Linked DNA regions of Homo sapiens: all the other regions are linked to region 2. Evidence: promoter capture Hi-C in 16 types of primary human blood cells and fetal thymus (Javierre and others, 2016). All regions are on one chromosome and are shown on one strand. The core of a region is centred on a gene start or on the middle of the fragment in contact, and the rest is flanking DNA. Distances in the headings are between cores, read along the strand shown.

What was found. The method cuts DNA at HindIII sites, captures the fragments that hold promoters and counts their contacts. A CHiCAGO score of 5 or more calls a contact.
Region 1: a fragment that was not itself captured here is called in contact with the fragment with the promoter of RSAD1 in region 2 in 4 of 17 cell types (M0 macrophages, M2 macrophages, M1 macrophages and 1 more); the score reaches 8.5 in M0 macrophages.
Region 3: a fragment that was not itself captured here is called in contact with the fragment with the promoter of RSAD1 in region 2 in 4 of 17 cell types (megakaryocytes, M1 macrophages, M0 macrophages and 1 more); the score reaches 8.6 in megakaryocytes.

The regions. Positions count from the first base shown.
Region 1 is chr17:50,722,986-50,726,389 of GRCh38, forward strand. The region is part of intron 1 of LUC7L3 (LUC7 like 3 pre-mRNA splicing factor); the gene reads left to right. Among named protein-coding and RNA genes, the nearest start is that of LUC7L3, 5.1 kb to the left of the region's middle. RefSeq lists an enhancer at 1,951-2,450. The HindIII fragment of the contact is 2,482 bases long and covers 443-2,924 here.
Region 2 is chr17:50,477,581-50,480,692 of GRCh38, forward strand. RSAD1 (radical S-adenosyl methionine domain containing 1) reads left to right here and starts at 1,280. Exons shown (of 9, transcript NM_018346.3): 1 at 1,280-1,439; 2 at 2,049-2,182; 3 at 2,300-2,504. The coding sequence starts at 1,305. RefSeq lists silencers at 1,046-1,535, 2,107-2,493. The HindIII fragment of the contact is 15,448 bases long and covers 1-3,112 here.
Region 3 is chr17:50,701,439-50,704,562 of GRCh38, forward strand. The region is part of intron 1 of ANKRD40 (ankyrin repeat domain 40); the gene reads right to left. Among named protein-coding and RNA genes, the nearest start is that of ANKRD40, 4.9 kb to the right of the region's middle. The HindIII fragment of the contact is 327 bases long and covers 1,224-1,550 here.

The DNA of each region.
Region 1 (3,404 bases), core at 434-2,933, 250 kb after region 2:
CACAGTGATGAGGAAAGCATGTGATTGTAACTAACTGCCTAGGGTGAGTACCTTTCAGTGAGGGTTTGATTTCAGTGTTAGCCAGAGAAGGCACTAGTAGCCATATTATTAGAAGATTGTAGTAAATTGTAAAGTCTGATCGGGAGTTTTGTTATTTTTTATGTAGCAAGACAGAAATTTTGTAGTTCAAATTGAGGTTTTTATATTCTAGATCTCAACCTGAAAATGAAATTACTTAATCATTAACACTGATTCTAATATCTGAAATGAGTTTTCTTCCATTTATCAAACTCAAGCCTACCCTTCCTTCCATGAAGGTTTAACATGAAGGTTTAATAATTTATGAAGGAAATTGAACTATGTTCTTTTCTAAAATCTTTGGAATGTTAGCAGATACTGTCATTGACACTGAAAAGTTGTTTAGAAAAGGAAAAATAGCTAAAGCTTCTGTCCACATTTTTTACTTGTATACTTTTTCTTTTTGCTTTAAAAATGTTCAGAATTTGGGAGCAAAAATTGAAAGCAAAAAACTAGTAATTATAATGCATGATGGCATCTATTAATATGTATTTTACTAGTTTTCATTCAGAGTCACCAAAATGTTCATAGTAACTTACTATGTTACTATGGAGTAAGATAGAAAAGCATTTTCTACCCTGCTCCCTGCCCCCCCCCCTTTTTTTTTTTGAGACAGAGTCTAGCTCTGTCACCCAGGCTGGAGTGTAGTGGCATGATCTTGGCTCACTGCAACCTCCACCTCCTGGCCTCAGCGTCCCGAGTAATTGGGATTGCAGGTGTGGGCCACCACGCCCGGCTAATTTTTGTATTTTTAGTCGACAGGGTTTTGCCATATTGGCCAGGCTGGTCTTGAACTCCTGACCTCAAGTGATCGGTCCGCCTCAGTCTCCCAAAGTGCTGAGGTTACAGGCGTGAGCCACTGCGCCCGGCTGGCATTTCCTACCTTACTCCATAGTAAAATAGTAAGTGTTGGCTTCTCAGAATTGCCAGCAGTCCATGTGTTATATGTGTATGTAATTGCTATTTGCTTTTCTTCCCAAAACATACAGAATTAGAGTGAATAGTATAATAAATTGAACTCCCCATGTACCCATGCCCAATTTAGCAATATTAGCACATAGTCAATATTATTTCCTCTGTATCCCTTCCATTATTTTGAAGCAATTCTGTTATTGTCAACCTTAAAGCGGTCATTGTATATCTGTAAAATACAAGGACTTTAAAAAAAAAACATAGCCGACCGGGCATGGTGGGTCACCTGTAATCTCAACATTGGGAGGCCAAGGCAGGCAGATCACTTGAGGCCAGGAGTTCGAGACCAGCCTGGCCAACATGGTGAAACCCTGTCTCTAATAAAAAATAAAAAAATTAGCTGGGCGTAGTGGTGCATTCCTGTAATCCCAGCTACTCTGGAGGTTGAGGCAGGAGGATCCTTTCAACCCAGGAGGCAGAGGTTGCAGTGAGCCGAGATGGTGCCACCACAGTCCAGCCTGGGCAACAGAGTGACACTCTGTCTCAAAAAAAAAATAGAATAAAATAACCACAATACCATAATCACTGAAAATTATAGTAAGGTATTTCGTAAATCTTTGGTTGCTTTAGGAAAATTGTGTGTGTGTGTGTGTGTGTGTGTGTGTGTGTGTCATTATATATGTTATTAGCCTTGATTTCCTCACAAAAGGAGAAGGTAGCTTAAGTTTGTAAATTTGACTTTTTTGCTAATACAGTTCTTCGTTTTATGAAATATTTTCTCTTTTTTTTTTTTTTTTTACCCCCGAGATGGAGTCTTGCTCTGTTGCCCAGGTTGGAGTGCAGTGGTGTGATCTCAGCTCACTGCAACCTCCACCTCCCGGGTTCAAGCGATTCTCCTGCCTCAGCCTCCAGAGTAGGTGGAATTACAGGTGCATGCCACCATGCCTGACTAATTTTTGTGTTGTTGTAGAGATGGGGTTTCACCATGTTTGCCGGGCTGGTCTTGAACTTTTGACAACAAGTGATCCTCCCTCGGCCTCCCAAAGTGCTGGGATTACAGGGGTGAGCCACCATGCCCAGCCTTTCTCTTCATTTCTTATAGTAAGTTAGGAAAATTGTTGTATTCATTTATCCAACAAAAATGTATTGCTCGGCTGGGAGCGGTGGCTCACGCCTGTAATCCTAGCACTTTGCGAGGCTGAGGCGGGTGGATCACCTGAGCTCAGGAGTTTGAGACCAGCCTGGCCAACATGGCGAAACCCTGTCTCTACTAAAAATACAAAAATTAGCCAGGTGTGGTGGCGCACGCCTGTAATCCCAGCTACTCGGGAGGCTGAGGAAGGAGAATCGCTTGAACCCGGGAGGTGGAGGTTGCAGTGAGCCGAGATCACGCCACTGCATTCCAGCCTGCGTGACAGGAGCAAGACTCCATTTCAAAAAAAAAATTAAAAGTATTGCTCTTAGGTAGATAACAGCAGGATAGTACAGATACAGCACTTGGTCCTAAAGAGCCATCATGTATTGGTGACAGTAAATGCACTTTTTTTTTCCAATGGGGATTATTCCAATTGAATGTAAACGCATTTCCATAACAGAATATGATAAATCCTACCATTGGGAAAAGTAAAATTGACCCTTGAACAACACGGGTTTGAGTTGAGTGTGTCCATTTATACGTGGAGTTTTTTCAATAAATATATTGGAACATTTTTTGGAGATTTGCAACAATTTGAAAAAACTTGAAGACGAATCACATAGCTTAGAAATATTTTTAAAATTTAAGAAAAGATAAGTACATCACAAATACATAAAATAGATGTATATACTAGTTTATCATTTTCCTACCACAAAATACATACGAATCATAAAAAGTTAAACTTTATAAAAACTTATGCACACAGTACATGGTGCCACTAGCAGTCCAGAGAAAGTAAAGCTTGAGTAATAACTGCATAAAATTAACTATAGTACATACTGTAATACTGTAATAATTTTGTAGCCACCTGTTGCTATTACAGTGAGCTCAAGTGTTGCCAGGCTCCACTTAAAATGCCCTATGACCTGTGACTCTTGATAATCTCTGCATGAGCAGTTGGTGTCTAAAGTAAATTGCATATCACAGTAAAAAATTATCCCTTGGTTCTTGTGTATTTTCATCATTGTTTATTGCAATACCGTATAAACTTGTTGTTTTGCTTTTTGTTGTTGTTGTTTTTGAGACAGTCTTGCTCTGTCGCCCAGGCTGGAGTGCAGTGGTGCCATCTCGGCTCACTGCAACCTCTGCTTCCCAGGTTCAAGCAGTTCTCATACCTCAGCCTCCCAGGTAGCTGGGATTACAGCCGTGTACCACCATGTCTGGCTAAGTTTTGTATTTTTAGTAGAGATGGGGTTTTGTCATGTTGGCCAGGCTGGGC
Region 2 (3,112 bases), core at 30-2,529:
CTAGGGGGACTGGAACAGAGCATGGCTGTGCTGGCCAGTCCTTCCTTCCCTCAGGATGTTGCATTCTCTGCACACTCTACAGTTTTATTTATTTATTTATTGAGACAGTCTTGCTCCATCACCCAGGCTGGAGTGCAGTGGCACTGTCTCAGCTCACTGCAACCTCCGCCTCCCAGGTTCGAGGGATTCTCCCTGCTCAGCCTCCCGTGTAGCTGGGATTACAGGTGCCCACCACCACGCTTGGATAATTTTTGTATTTTTGGTAAAGACGGGGTTTCAGCATGTTGGCTAGGCTGGTCTTGAACTTCTGATCTCAAGTGATCTGCCCGCCTCGGCCTCCCAAAGTGCTGGGATTACAGGCGTCTACAGTTATTCTTGAGAACTACAAGCAAGAAAGGAGGGGAGAACCAGGTCAGTTCAAGGCCACTGGGAGAACTGTCCTGCACCGCCTGCCTCTGAAGCCCATGATGTTTCTGCTTTGTGGGACAGTTGTTCAGGTGCCTGCTTCCCCAGGCCTTCCCCTGCGCCTTCCCCCTCTCTCCTACACACACCATCTGACTGTCCTTCCAGCACGTACACCTCCAGATGCTTGGGTTGGCCTGACCCAAAACAGTCTACTCTCCCGGCCAAGCCAATTGCCCCTGGGATTTTCTGCTCCTCCAAGATCCCGTGCATAGCCCTGGTGGTGGCTCATGCCCTTAATCCTTAGTTACTCTAGATGCTGAGGCAGGAGGATCGCTTGAGGCCGAGGAGTTCAAGACCTCCCCTCTCCCAAATATTTGTAAATGAAATTAAAAGAAAGATCCAGCCCAAGTGTCTCTTCTGCCCTACTGACTCCCACACTCTTAAAACAGATGACCTCACAGCACTGAGGCGGACGGCTCTGGTGTCCAGCAGGCACGGAATTAATACGCCTTGCCTGTCCTGGCCGGTTGGCTTGCCTCTCTCCTGCCAGAATGCAACCTGGCTTTATGCACCTAGATGTCCCCAGCGCCCAGTTCTGAGCCAGGCACATCAAATGTCAAGGAATTGACTGAACAAACTAAGAGCTCCTGGATGGGTCCGGGAACTCGCCCGGGCACAAGGTGCCAAAAGGCAAGCAGCCCGCCTCGCGGCCTGGGGAAAGAACCGACAGGAGGCCGCAGTGAGCGCCCGGGCGCCCGGCAGGTGGCGCCGCAGCCCCGGGCCCGGGCCCTCTTGTCGCGCGGTCACGCAGCCCCTCTTCCTTCCGCCGGCTGCGCACTCACAGTGATCCCTGCGCGCGTCTCCTGCTCGGGTCAGTGCGCCGCGCTGCGCTGGGCGCCATGGCGCTCCCCGGAGCCCGGGCTCGCGGCTGGGCGGCAGCAGCCAGAGCGGCCCAGAGGCGCCGCCGCGTGGAGAACGCAGGAGGGTCCCCGAGTCCTGAGCCTGCGGGCCGGCGCGCGGCGCTTTACGTACACGTGAGTAGGGGCGGGGGCGGAGCCCACGGTGTGTGGCCGCAGCCCTGGCCGTGACCGTGGCCGTCCAAAACCCAGGTGGCGGTTTGTCACTCTATGAACCCGCCTGCCGTGTTTCCGTGCCCCCGTACGAGGTCTGGGATGGGACCCTGTGCTTTGGCAGGGAAATGACTTGGTCCAGAAACCTGAAGTCTCTGCTACTCACCGGCTCGGTGACTCTGACCAAATGGTTCAAATTTCATAACAATTTTCCTCTTAGCAAGACAAAATTTTCTTAAGAGCAGTGTTCTGACTCGGTAGCTGGGAAAATGGCTCATAGGAAAATTGTATGAAAATTATATGATCCCAGAAAGAGCTTGGGTTGAATTCCTTCCTGACGTCTGCTGGTTGGAAGAGGCAGCGTAACAAAGGAGTGAGCCTCAGTTTTCTCACATTGAAGTGGATGTAATAACCCCAGTGCGACCTGCCTTGGGGAGTTGTGTGGCTTAGATGTCCTAGCTACTGTGGAAAGACCTCGGGATAGGGGTGGGGGTGGGGTTGGGGGTGTGTGCGACTGAACCCTGGAAGTGGCCAGGGCAGCTCTCACCGCGCACGTGCACTCACTGCCCCCAGTGGCCTTACTGCGAGAAGCGCTGCAGTTACTGCAACTTCAACAAGTACATCCCTCGCCGCCTGGAGGAGGCTGCCATGCAGAAGTGTCTGGTGACCGAAGCTCAGACGCTGCTGCGGCTCAGCGGGGTGCAACGGTGGGTAGTGGGGGCTGTAGGCAGCGTTTTGGGAAATATTTGGAGGAGTGGTGGGGGATAGGTGCAGGCATCCCAGAGGGCTCCCCCAGGTCTCATTTCTCCATTCTCTTTCCCCAGGGTGGAGTCTGTGTTCTTTGGTGGGGGGACCCCCAGTCTAGCCAGTCCCCACACGGTGGCTGCTGTCCTGGAGGCTGTGGCACAGGCAGCCCACCTGCCTGCAGACTTGGAAGTCACATTGGAGGCTAATCCTACTTCAGCTCCGGGCTCCAGACTGGCAGAGTTCGGGGCAGCAGGGGTTAACAGGTTGTCTATAGGCCTCCAGGTAACCCATGGCACTCACCCCATCCCAGTGCACCCCGCCCTTCAGTGCCATCTCCTCTTTGGTCACATTCATTCATTGGGCAAACATTGATTGAGCACCTTCTGGGTGCCAGGGACACAGTAGGGCCTAGTGCGACACTTTTATAACTCCTTAATTGTCTGCTGCTGTCATAGACCACAGACTTTATGAGAAAGGGATCAGGTGTGGCTTTTCTATTTCAAACACTTACCATAGTGCCTGGCACATAGTAGGTGGTCAAAAAAGATTTGCTACATGACACGGGAGACGCAGACATGTAGCCAGATTATTGCAGCATGGTAAATGTCACCTGTAAAGGGGGTCTCTATAAAAGGCTTCTAGAGTACAGCCTGAAGGGAGGTCACTCTGATGAAATCACTGAAACTTCTCTGGAGGAGATGTTTGAATGAAGAGGAAGAGTTCACCAGGTGAGGGGGTGTGGGGGAAACGACACAGGCCATGGAAGAGCCTGGCATGTTTTGGGGGAGTTGTGAGTCATTCCTTGTGATTGGAGAGGCTGGAAACAAGGTTGCAAGGTAGAGTCCAAAACCTTTGGTGCCTACTAAGGAGTGTGGGTTTTGTCCTAGTAA
Region 3 (3,124 bases), core at 137-2,636, 220 kb after region 2:
TCTAACATATCAGACTCATTTAAGTAAAACTAATCACTCAATATTGTACACAGAGGAAGCAATTCTGCACACTCTGAAGGGCTACTATTTTAATACTGTACAGAAACATAATTAGCATGCCAGCAAAAACTCCATCTTAACAGAAATGAAAGATTCAGAGCAACTAAATCCATCCCTAGGTGCCAGAGCTGACTGTATATTATGGAAGGAAAATACTTTTCGCCTGTGTTTTGAAAGGTCTTCTTTCACCAACTCTCTAACTGAACTGAGATACATATCTTCAGAGCTCTTATAGCCAAATACAGAAATGAAGATTAGAACAAATGTTCAATATTGAAGGTTAGTTCACTAACCTGGGAAGTATAATTATTTGGAAAGTTTATATGATTCCAGGAAAAAGCTGATTTGCCCTGGGCTTAACATTAGTAACTTACAGAAAGTTAGCATGTCTGGCTGGCTGGGAGCAATTCCATTGATGTCTCAGAGTGACATTCTACATTATGGTTCATTAGAATTAGATTATCCAGGTTCCTTTAAGGTGTATTCCATGATGCAATGACAAAATTATTGCTAATTTGGGAAAAATAAGAGTCTCGTTAAGTTTGGGAGAGAAGAGTCTTGATCAAGCTCCCTGAAGGCAAGGAAGTGTTTGCTTGGCATGTATTAATTAATATTTACTGAATGGGCCAGGCACGGTGGCTCACACCTGTAATCCCAGCACTTAGGGAGGCCAAGGCAGGTGGATCACTTTAGGTCGGGAGTTTGAGACCAGCCTGCCCAATAGGGTGAAACCCCATCTCTACTAAAAATACAAAAATTAGTGTGATGGTGCATGTCTGTAATCCCAGCTACTGGGGAGGCTGAGGCAGGAGAATTGCTTGAACCCAGGAGGTGGAGGTTGCAGCGAGCCAAGATTGTGCCACTGCACTTCAGCCTGGGCAACACAGCAAGACTCCATCTCAAAAAAAAAAAAAGTACCAAATGAGTAAACTAAGGATAAAGTGGACCTTGCTTGAAGTAGAAGGATCCAATCTACCCTTGATTCTGGGCAAACTGGAACCTTGAGTGTGTTTGTGTGTGGATGTCTGTGGCACAGGCTTAAAAAGTGAACAATTATAATGATAAGTGAGCCCTCAAAAATGAATGAAGCATGATGAGAAAAATATGCTCCCTTTTGGAAATAAAATGCTCACTTGCTAGTAGTAGATCACTTGTTCGTGGCAAGCTTGAGAGTAAAGGAGGTAATTTACTACCAGTGGGTCTGAGAGACTCTGGGACAAACCAACTTGCTAAACTACCACCCATGTAAAGCAGGGTTAAGTCAACATAGCGTGGCCCCCACAGCCCTGTGCCTTAGTGATCATCATTTACCGTCCAGAGCTGTGCGGCTCTGGGCAGCCATAACTCAGAGCCCCTGCAGCCAGGTAATATTTTCAAGTTCTTCATGAACCAAGGGTTATGCATGACACTTGAATTACAACTGATGTGGGGGAATGATTAGTGATCAATCTAATTGATAGATTACTCTATCTTTGAACTTCAACTCCTTAAGCTTTACATTTGCAGTCAAAATATCTTATTAGTGTCAGAAACTATTTCAGACCTGAGGCACTGGGTGTCATTCATCAACAGGGCATCACTCATTGGTGCTGAAATTGTGATTACTGAGCAACTAAGACTTGAAAGCAGTCACCATTCTGCTTTGCAAATGCAAGAGAGTACGTTTTTTTGAGGGTAACCTTATATTCCATTATCTAGCATATTGCTTCATAATAAGAAAACAACAACAATGGCTAATACAGGTATAATGCTTTACGTGTTGGACATTGTTCTAAAGGCATTACATGTATTAACTTATTTAATCCTCTAAACCCATGAGGTAATACTACTGTCAACATTCCCCCCATTTTACAGAAGAGGAAACAGACATCAGCAAATAAATAAGCAAAGCACGCAGTACGCTAGGTGGTGATGAAGTATGACAGCAATAGTAAAGCAGGGAAAGGCATTAGGGAATGACAGAGGTTGGAAAGGGGCATTGTGCAACTTTAAATTGAGGGCCCAGGAAAAGCCTTGCCAAGAAGGTGACATCTAAACTAAAATCTGAAGGTGGTGAGGAAGCAAACCATGTGATATCTGGAGGGAAAGCATTTAAGAGAGTGGGAAGACAAAACGCAAAGATCTTGAATCAGGACTGTCTGGTATTCCAGAGAAAGCAAGGAGGCCAGGGGAAAAAGGTAAGCAGAAGGGCAAATCCCATGAGATTAGCACAGAGGTAAGGAGGGAAGATGTGGGGACAGGAAGTAGAAATTGTAGGACCCTGTAGGCTTTTACTGAGTGAGATAGGAGCCATTTTTGAGCAGAGTGAAATGATCTGACTTATGTTTTAAGTCAGGATCCCTCTGACCACTGTGTTAATTAAGAAGACTGTATGATATAAGCTTAGGAGCAAGGACACTAGTAGGAGGCTATTGTAATAATCCAAGCAAGAGAAACAATGGTGGCTTTGTATCAGAGGTGTAGTGGTAGGGTTAGTGAGAAGTAGTCAGATTCTGACTGTATCTGAAGGTGGAGCTCATAGAATTGGCTGACTGGATGTCGGCTATGAAAGACAGGAGGCAAGCAGGAGGCAAGCAGGGTGCCAAGGGTTCTGGCCTGAGCACTCCTGAGAGGCTGAGGACTCAGAGGAGCAGGCTTGAGGTGGTAGAGGGATGAGGGGAGACTTGGAATTCAATCTTGGACATGTTGAGTTTGAGGGGCCTATTAGACAGTTCCTCCAATTAAATCTACAAGAGGCCGGGCGCGGTGGCTCACGCCTATAATCCCAGCACTTTGGGAGGCCGAGGCGGGCAGATCACCTGAGGTCAGGAGTTCGAGACCAGCTTGGCTAACATGGTGAAACCCCATTTCTACTAAAAATACAAAAAACTAGCCAGGCGTGGTGGCACACACCTGTAATCCTAGTTACTTGGGAGGATGAGGCAGGAGAATCGCTTGAACCCAGGAGGTGGAGGATGCAGTGAGCTGAGATCACGCATTGCACTCCAGCCTGGGTGACAAGAGTGAAACTCCATCTCAAAAAAAAAAAAAAAAAAAAAAACCTATAAGAAGCCTCTTCAGGCTA